Regions from separate parts of the Homo sapiens genome. Here regions 2 and 3 are each linked to region 1. The links are contacts of gene promoters, found by promoter capture Hi-C in blood cells and fetal thymus (Javierre and others, 2016). All regions are on one chromosome and are shown on one strand. The core of a region is centred on a gene start or on the middle of the fragment in contact, and the rest is flanking DNA. Distances in the headings are between cores, read along the strand shown. Region 1 holds the start of NECAP2 (NECAP endocytosis associated 2). Region 2 overlaps CROCC (ciliary rootlet coiled-coil, rootletin). Region 3 has its middle 12 kb from the start of RNU1-2.

What was found. Contacts are between HindIII fragments. The CHiCAGO score rates a contact against its expected background, and 5 or more counts as called.
Region 2: a contact is called between a fragment that was not itself captured here and the fragment with the promoter of NECAP2 in region 1, in 5 of 17 cell types (total CD8 T cells, naive CD8 T cells, M1 macrophages and 2 more). The highest score is 7.6, in total CD8 T cells.
Region 3: a fragment that was not itself captured here is called in contact with the fragment with the promoter of NECAP2 in region 1 in 1 of 17 cell types (naive B cells); the score reaches 5.8 in naive B cells.

The regions. Positions count from the first base shown.
Region 1 is chr1:16,439,450-16,442,042 of GRCh38, forward strand. It overlaps NECAP2 (NECAP endocytosis associated 2), which reads left to right and starts at 1,275. Exons shown (of 8, transcript NM_018090.5): 1 at 1,275-1,404. The coding sequence starts at 1,313. The HindIII fragment of the contact is 8,327 bases long and covers 1-2,593 here.
Region 2 is chr1:16,923,865-16,926,457 of GRCh38, forward strand. It overlaps CROCC (ciliary rootlet coiled-coil, rootletin), which reads left to right. Exons shown (of 37, transcript NM_014675.5): 3 at 461-615. Among named protein-coding and RNA genes, the nearest start is that of CROCC, 3.2 kb to the left of the region's middle. RefSeq lists enhancers at 1-591, 2,421-2,593. The HindIII fragment of the contact is 6,523 bases long and covers 1-2,593 here.
Region 3 is chr1:16,906,603-16,909,195 of GRCh38, forward strand. No RefSeq gene overlaps it. Among named protein-coding and RNA genes, the nearest start is that of RNU1-2, 12 kb to the left of the region's middle. The HindIII fragment of the contact is 606 bases long and covers 999-1,604 here.

The DNA.
Region 1 (2,593 bases), core at 25-2,524:
GGTGGGTGCCTGTAATCCCAGCTACTCGGGAGGCTGAGGCAGGAGAATCGCTTGAACCCGGGAGGTGGAGGTTGCAGTGAGCCGAGATTGCACCACTGCACTCCAGCCTGGGCGGCAGAGTGAGACTTTGTCTGAAGAAAAAAAAAAAAAAAAGTAAAAAGGAGAAGGAGAGTGAGAGAGAAAAGGAAAGAAGGGGTGGGGAAAGTTTGGGGTATTCAGTGAATCAGAAGTTTGGGATCAGCTTCACCCCCACATAGGGGCTGGCACATTGCAGGCACTCAACTCAATGAGAGAATGGTAGGGAAGGAGGGATTTTGAGAATTTGGCTAGGGTAGACATTGTATCTCCCAGAATATTCTGGGAGAAATCGAAGTTAAGACTGGAATTCTTCTTCTTCTTTTTTTTTTTTTTTGAGACAGAGTCCCGCTCTGTCACCCAGGCTGAGGTGCAGTGGCACAATTTCAGCTCACTGCAACTTCCGCATTCCGGGTTCAAGCGATTCTAGTGCCTCAGTCTCCCAACTAGCTAGGACTACAGACACACGCCACCAAGCCCGGCTAATTTTTGTATTTTTAGTAGAGACGGGGTTTCACCATGTTGGCCAGGCTGGTCTCGAACTCCTGACCTCAGGTGATCCGCCCGCCTCAGCCTCCCAAAGTGCTGGGATTACAGGCGTGAGCTACCAAGCCCGGCCTGGAATTCTTCTTAAATTACTTGTGTTACTAAACTTTACTTCTTTGAATACAACTCGTTGTTGAGGTTTGGCCACACGGGGCCCTGAGCATATAAGTGGGTTCCCCTAGGGGAAGCATGGAGGGTGGTAGGGTAATGGCATCTATTTAGTCTGGTGGGTCAGGTGCCAGCTGAGCCTTACAGTCAGGAGAGGGAAGGATATTCAGGCAGAGGAGGCGCCGAGGCAAAGGCTGGAGGACAGAGATACTGCAGGGTGGGCTACAGCTTTGCCTCTCGGTCAACTGGGCCCCAGGCCTAAGAAACTGAAGCGATGGGGATGATCCACACCCAGACCACGGGTTACAGAGGGGTCTGTCCATGGCGGGCGCAGGGCGCTTTCTTTGCGTCGGAGGGTGTCTGGAGGGAAGGAGAAGCCTCTGGAGGGAGGGAGAAGCCTCCGGAGGTCGCCCGCCACGTGTCTTGAGCCGGGTTTCCAGCAGAGGGCGCACAAACGAGGCGGTGCTGAGGCCCGCGAGCTGCCGCTCTAGCCGAAACCTGGTCAGAGAGTCGCACCGCTTCCGTCCGTCGGACAGAGGAACGGTGGAAGTCGCCGGAAGTTCGGTGGGCTCCAGGCGTCGCGATGGAGGAGAGCGGGTACGAGTCGGTGCTCTGTGTCAAGCCTGACGTCCACGTCTACCGCATCCCTCCGCGGGCTACCAACCGTGGCTACAGGTGACTACCCACCGCCAGACCAGGCTAGCTCCAATTTAACCCTTTCTCCGCCACCCGGACACACCCACTGCGGGAACCGAGGACAGCCCTGGCCAGTTTTGGGGCGAGGGGGAGCTAATGCTGCTGCTTCTTCCAGTTCCAGGCCCGAGCAGGGAGGTGGATCCAGAGTTTCGCCCGTCTCAGTTCGACGCACGGGACTCCTGGCGGCGGGGAGGGCGTTAAAGCCGTATCTAGCGCTTAGGGACCCCGGTGGGCTGCCGGGTACCCTAAACTTGGTCGGGGGTGGTGATGTCACAGACGCTTCTCTTTCAGCGCTAACCGGTGGCCTTGAAGGGATCCTCGAAAAGCCTTAAGCGGGGAGGTGCCCTATCACAGACGGAAATCCCCGAGAGGAGGGGAGGGAGCCCAGAGCCGGCTGAAAGGACCGGTCCCGGGGAGCTTTAAGGTGACGGTCGAAGCCCAGGGACCCCTTCCTACCCAGATCCCTTCGCACGAATTTCACCCTTGATCACAGCCTGGAGCAGTTGGGAGGACCCCTTCTATATTTCTCTGGTCTCTACCTGAGACGAATAAACACACACGCTTGTAAACATACTGAGTATCTCTGCAAAGGAACACAGGAAACTGCCCTAGGGGAGGGGAACCGCCCTTGGAAGGAAACTTCCTTTCCCTTTTGTGCTGTTTGCGTTTTACTACTCTTTGTATGCGTTATCTATCAAAACGACGAAAAATATTAAAAGAAAAAAGATACACTTCATACAGACAACCTGGCCTATGGCTATTTTGTGCCACTGAGTGGTGGTGGGGAGTGCTCGTATTTGCGGGGGCCTGGGTGGCTCTTGAAGGCGATGGTTGTCCAAGTTTTTCGGAAATACAGGATTGGTCTGCACCCCAAGAATGATGGAACGTCCACATTTCCTCTTGTTACTTTCCAGTTGTGTTACCGTGGGCTCATAGCTGATCTTATGGTGAAAAGATGCGTTAGTGAACATTACATTCATGACATATTTTAAAATAGTATAAAAACAAAAACAACAATAACCAAAATACATTTGTTTTCTGTCATCAAACTGTGGTTGGACCATCAAACCATTGATGGTCGTCTAGCCCCATCTCCTGTTGGGTCTTTTTTTTTTTTTTTTGAGACAGAGTTTCCCTCTTGTTGTCCAGGCTAGAGTGCAATGGTGCG
Region 2 (2,593 bases), core at 54-2,553, 480 kb after region 1:
GAGACAGGGCTTCGCCGTGTTGGCCAGGCTAGTCTCAAACTCCTGACCTCAGGTGATCCTCCTATCTCGACTCCCAAAGTGCTGGGATTACAGGCGTGAGTCCGTGCCCGCCCCACCCATATTACAGATAAGTAAATCTGAGGCCCCGGAGAAGAAGACTAATTGGAAAAGGAGGGAGCAAGAACTCAGGGGTCTCCTGGCTCCTAGACTGAGTGTCTCTCCTGCACCTCCCAAACCTGCTGGGCCACACTTTAGCTGGAGTTGTGTTCACTTTACGTCCAGCTTTGTATCCCCTCCTTGCCTTCCTCCCTGTTCTCAGCTCTGTTTGCAGGCCTGGTGCTGCAGCCATTCCCATCTGGACTCCTCCCAGGGGCCTGGATGGTTTTCTTGCCCTCCCTGTTGGGGGGAGGATGTCCCACTGGACCCAGAAGCCAACCATGTGCCCACTGTCCCTTGCCAGTCCTGCTGCCGGCCACAGAGATGGCATCGCTGCTGTCGCTGCAGGAGGAGAACCAGCTGCTGCAGCAGGAGCTGTCCCGCGTGGAGGACCTGCTGGCCCAGAGCCGTGCCGAGCGCGATGAGCTCGCCATTAAGTACAATGCGGTCAGCGAGAGGGTGGGTGCCGCCCAGGTGGTGGACTAGGCCAGGGTTCCCCTCGTTCAAGGGCAGGGAGGCATCTAGACCAGGCCCACACACGGGGCAAAAGATGGGCCCTGGAGTCAGGTTGGCCTGGGCTTGGATTGAGGCTCTGCCACCTTGAGTGGCGTTGAGCAAATCACTATGCTCTTTAAGCCTGTTTTCTGTAGTGGGGATTGTAATGGGACGTGGAATTGTAGGAATCAAGGAGATAATAGAATAAAGTGCCTGGCACCAGGGGTATTTTGTTCCCATCTGTCCCAGGCCTGTTAGGGGTGTGGGACACGGAGAATGAGATCCCTAAAGATTCCTGCCCCTTGAGTTTCTGGGCATCTCCCATTGCCACGGGCCTTGGGGTTGAGGCGGTGGCTGGATGCTGGCTCGAGGCTGGTGTGGGCACCCGCGGTGTTCTGCAGCCCATCTGGGGCAGCCACAAGACCTGCCGCCACTGCCTATTGGAATGAGTTCCAGGCAGGGAAGGAAGGAGAAGCAGGCCTGTCTTCATGTCCAGGCAGGATTCACATCACCCGTGCTGCAGGCTTGTGGGGGTCCCAGGGTGTGGGGCGGGAGCTGGGTGTGAGCCGGTGCGAGGGGTGCGGGATGCTCTTGATGCACTGTCTGCTTTGGGCCTCCGGGTGGCCGGGAGGTGGCCCTGGGAAGTTGGTGGTGGCTGAAGATTGGTAAGGGACACTCGCAGCTGGGACAGAGTGTATGTGTGCAGATGAGAGGCATGCAGGTGGCAATAACGTATTAACAGTAGCTACTGTTTATTGAGTGCCTACTATGTGCCAGGCGCGTGCTGAGTGTTTCACATTTAATACACCAAGGTCGGGACCATTATGATGCCCATGTAACAGAGGAGAAAACAGAGGCTCAGGGAGGGGAAGCACCATGCTGGGGGCACACAGCCAGTTAAAGTTAGACACCAGGTCTTCCAACTCCCAGCCCAGGGCTCTGTTTGGTTTCTAAACTAACCCAGTCTAGAAACAAAGTTCTGAAGTTTCATTTCCTGTGTATGGGAAGAGACACTGGGCTAGGGATTTCAGGGCACAGCTGGCCCCCACAAAGTTGGAAGGGACCCAGAGAGGCAGGGGCTGGCCCAGGGTCCCCTGTGTGGTAGTGGCAGAGCTAGGGTTGGCATGGGACCCCTGAGCTGGACTTGTCCAGGCTGGAGCCCGCATTGGCAGGAGGGTGTGTGTTCCTGTGTATGACTGTGGGGTGTGCCCGTGTCCTGGGATTTGCCTGGCTGGACAAACCCACGACTAGTTGGGACTTGTAGAGGAGCAGAGTAGGCGGCCCGCAGTGGCCCCTGGCATGAGGACAGTGGAGAGCTCGTTTCCCCAGGGTCTGCAGCGGGTGTGTAGGGCACGCTGGCCCCAGTCATGAATTGTGGGTGGTGATGGGGCCCTGAGCCAGGCACCCCTTTCTTTTGGTCCATGCATGGCACAGTGCCACACCCCCAGGGCCGCCTCTTAAATGCCACCTTCTGAAGCTAGCCCTGCCCCCAGGTTGGCAGGGAAGGGAAGAGGTGGGAGGTAGCAGGTTCCTCCTCTGCTGGGACACAGCTGCTGGGGCTGGGACTGCAGCACAGGGGGTCTGGGTTAGTCTAGAAAGCTCCCTCCTGTGGTTAGTGGGGGCCCAAATGGCACGCAGAGGGCGCCCGCTGCTTCAGTTGTCCTCTATCCACCATGGTTTGAATGAGGCCCCACCTGGAGGCAGGGGTGGAACAGGAATGACCTCAAAGGCCTTTCCTGGAGGGTGGGTCCCCAGAGAACTTCAGAGCCTAGAGATCACCTCATCACAGATAGGGAAAGTAAGTCCGGGAGAGGGGCATGATAGGCCCAAGGTCAGTGGTGGTCCTGGGATGAGACCCTTGGTCCAGGGCTCTGCAGTTGGGCAACATTCTCTTTCCCTGCCACCCCCTTGTCCCCATGGCCACAGGTGGCAGTGCCTGCCC
Region 3 (2,593 bases), core at 52-2,551, 470 kb after region 1:
AGAAATTGTACTTGGAACTGGTGCCGTTGGGTTGTAGACATAACATGCTTGCTGTTTGTATGGGAAGGGCTTTGCCAGTGCTCTGTGCCCCTGTGCAGGGCATCCAGGCCTGCAGGTCAGAACGGCAGTCTCACCTATGAGTTTGTGTAATACGCAGCAATTCTCCCTGGAATATAAGATGGGTGGTCTTGTGAGGTTCCTACAAGTAAGAAGACAAATTTCCCTTCAGTTTGTATTGACAAAATTCAAAATTAATAATAACAGCCCAACCTCTTGAATGATAAATGTCCTTTACATTGACAGACCAGAACTGCCCTGCTTGCCTCAGCTCCTCTGTGCAGGTGCAGCTCACAATTCCCCCCACACAGGTCATTTCCTCCCTGCTTTCTCCAAAAGAGGGAGACAGCAGTTCTGCAGGACCACAGGGCTCAAGGCCTTCCAGGGCCAAAAATCTCAGAAGAAGTTGCCCGTTCTGCCTGTACCTCACGACTGACCTAGAAATGGCCTTTGCTAGGAGCAAAGTAGGGGGAAATGGTCGCCAGAGCTGGGGCCTGGGTACTGGGCCAGGTTACCCCACAGGAGGGGAAGTACTCAGGGTTAGAGGGGGCCAAGCACCAAGACCTCAGCATCCTCAACCTCCAAAAGGACTCAGAGAGATGCAGAAACCGAGACAGGGTTCCTCTTTCAAGGAAAGAGACTTTTGAGGAAGACCCCAGGGCTCTGAACCAAAATCCAGATTTTTCCCCATCTGCAGCTTAATTCCACCTTAGTTGGTGCAACTTCATCCTTCCCCTATGCTCAGGACAAAAAACAGTTCTTCTATAGGCTGGTCATTCTCTGGCCCCATACATCCTATTGGTCAGAAAATTATGTTTTTTCTTTGGTTAACTGCAGACTTTGGTCTGCACAGTCTTTTTCTTTCTTGGTCTGAAAACCACCCAGTAGTCCCATATGTAGCTTTTTTGGATAAACCTAGAAATTGACCCTGCTGGTCTTAAAGCTTGAAACTTAATATTTGTTTCGTCTGAGTTCCTTCCTCAGGAAACAACCTTCAGGCCTCTCAAAAAAGCCATCAAAGAACTGAAATTCATCCAGACAATGAGATGCTGGGACCCCTCATTCATCATGATTGCTTCCTTGCTCCTCCCTAGTTCCTGTTTTCTTACACATTGTTACATTTCTTCCCTGCCATATAAACCTCTGGTTTTGTTGGTCAGGGAGATGGATTTGAGACTGAGTTCTCATCTCCCCCACTGCAGCACCCTATTAAAGCGCCTTCCTTGGCAATAATCATCTCGGTGATTGGCTTTCTCTGTGGCAACCAGCAGGAATCCCAGATCTCTGAATTTTGGCAAAGGAGTCTCCTGATAAAGGTGGGATGGATTCTACTGACCAACATCAAAACGATCAGACATTTGAAAGCCTTAATCTCAGGGTCGGGGTTTGGGCCGCCCTTGGGCCTTTTCCTTGGGCCTAACCATTAAAATCAGCCTAGCCAGGTCTGTCTTCCAGGCACAGGGGTAGGGCCAGATACTCCTGATGCTTTTTGACGCTTCTCCCACTGGGTGGGCAACAACCCTCCCCTTCCCTGTGACCTGCAGAGAAGCTTCAGGGGGCGTTTATTCAATTTGCTAGGAGCCTACAAAGCACAGGTACACGGTGACTCTGTGGTTCCCACTGCACCTGCCACTCTCCTTGGTCCCCTCACTGTCTCTGGCAGGCAGTAATGTTCTGGGTGAGCTTGGGTGCTGAAGACACCCAGGCAGGGAGGGTAGGGAAAGGCACCAGCCCCTTAGGTCCTGCGCATTAGGGATCCAAAAAACATCTGAAGAAACAGAAAGGGAGCGTTGGAAGTAGATCAAAGGGAAAGAAAGAAATCCTAGGAGATTTCCTATCTGAAGGCACCATGAAGAGAAAGTCCGCCTCCTCTGGGCCGCGTCCTCCTGTTGCAGGTGAACCGAGTTCCGGTCTCCATTGGAAACCAAAGCAGGTAACTTTGCCCTGACTCCTAGTTAGGAAGCCATGCTTTGTCCTCCCCTGTTTAGCACTTGATCCTGTAGCACTTGATTGTCTCTCCCTGGCTTTCTATGGATTCCAGAGATGCAACTGAGAAGTTTGTTTTTAATGCACTTTTCCTTAAAGTAAGAGTATTTCAGGCCGGGCACGGTGGCTTACACCTGTAATCCCAACACTTTGGGAGGCAGAGGTGGGCATTTTACTTGAGGTCAGGAGTTCGAGACCAGCCTGGCCAACATGGCGAAACTCTGTCTCTACGAAAAATACAAAAATTAGCCAGGTATGTTGGCACCGGCCTGTAGTCCCAGCTACTCGAGAGGCTGAGGCAAGAGAAACCTGTGAACATGGGAAGGGGAAGTTGCAGTGAACTGATATCAAAAAAAAAAAAAGTATCTTTTGGCAAAGGAAATGATTTCTGACAGGTTTTGCACTTAAGACACTCAGGTGTGAGGAAAACATGAAAACCACTATGCTAGGGAAAGCAAATGCTGTTGAGAATGTCTCATAAACACAAATTACATGTCAGCAGGTAGGTTTGACCCTCAGGTTGGGCACATTTTACTTTAAGTTCACTGTC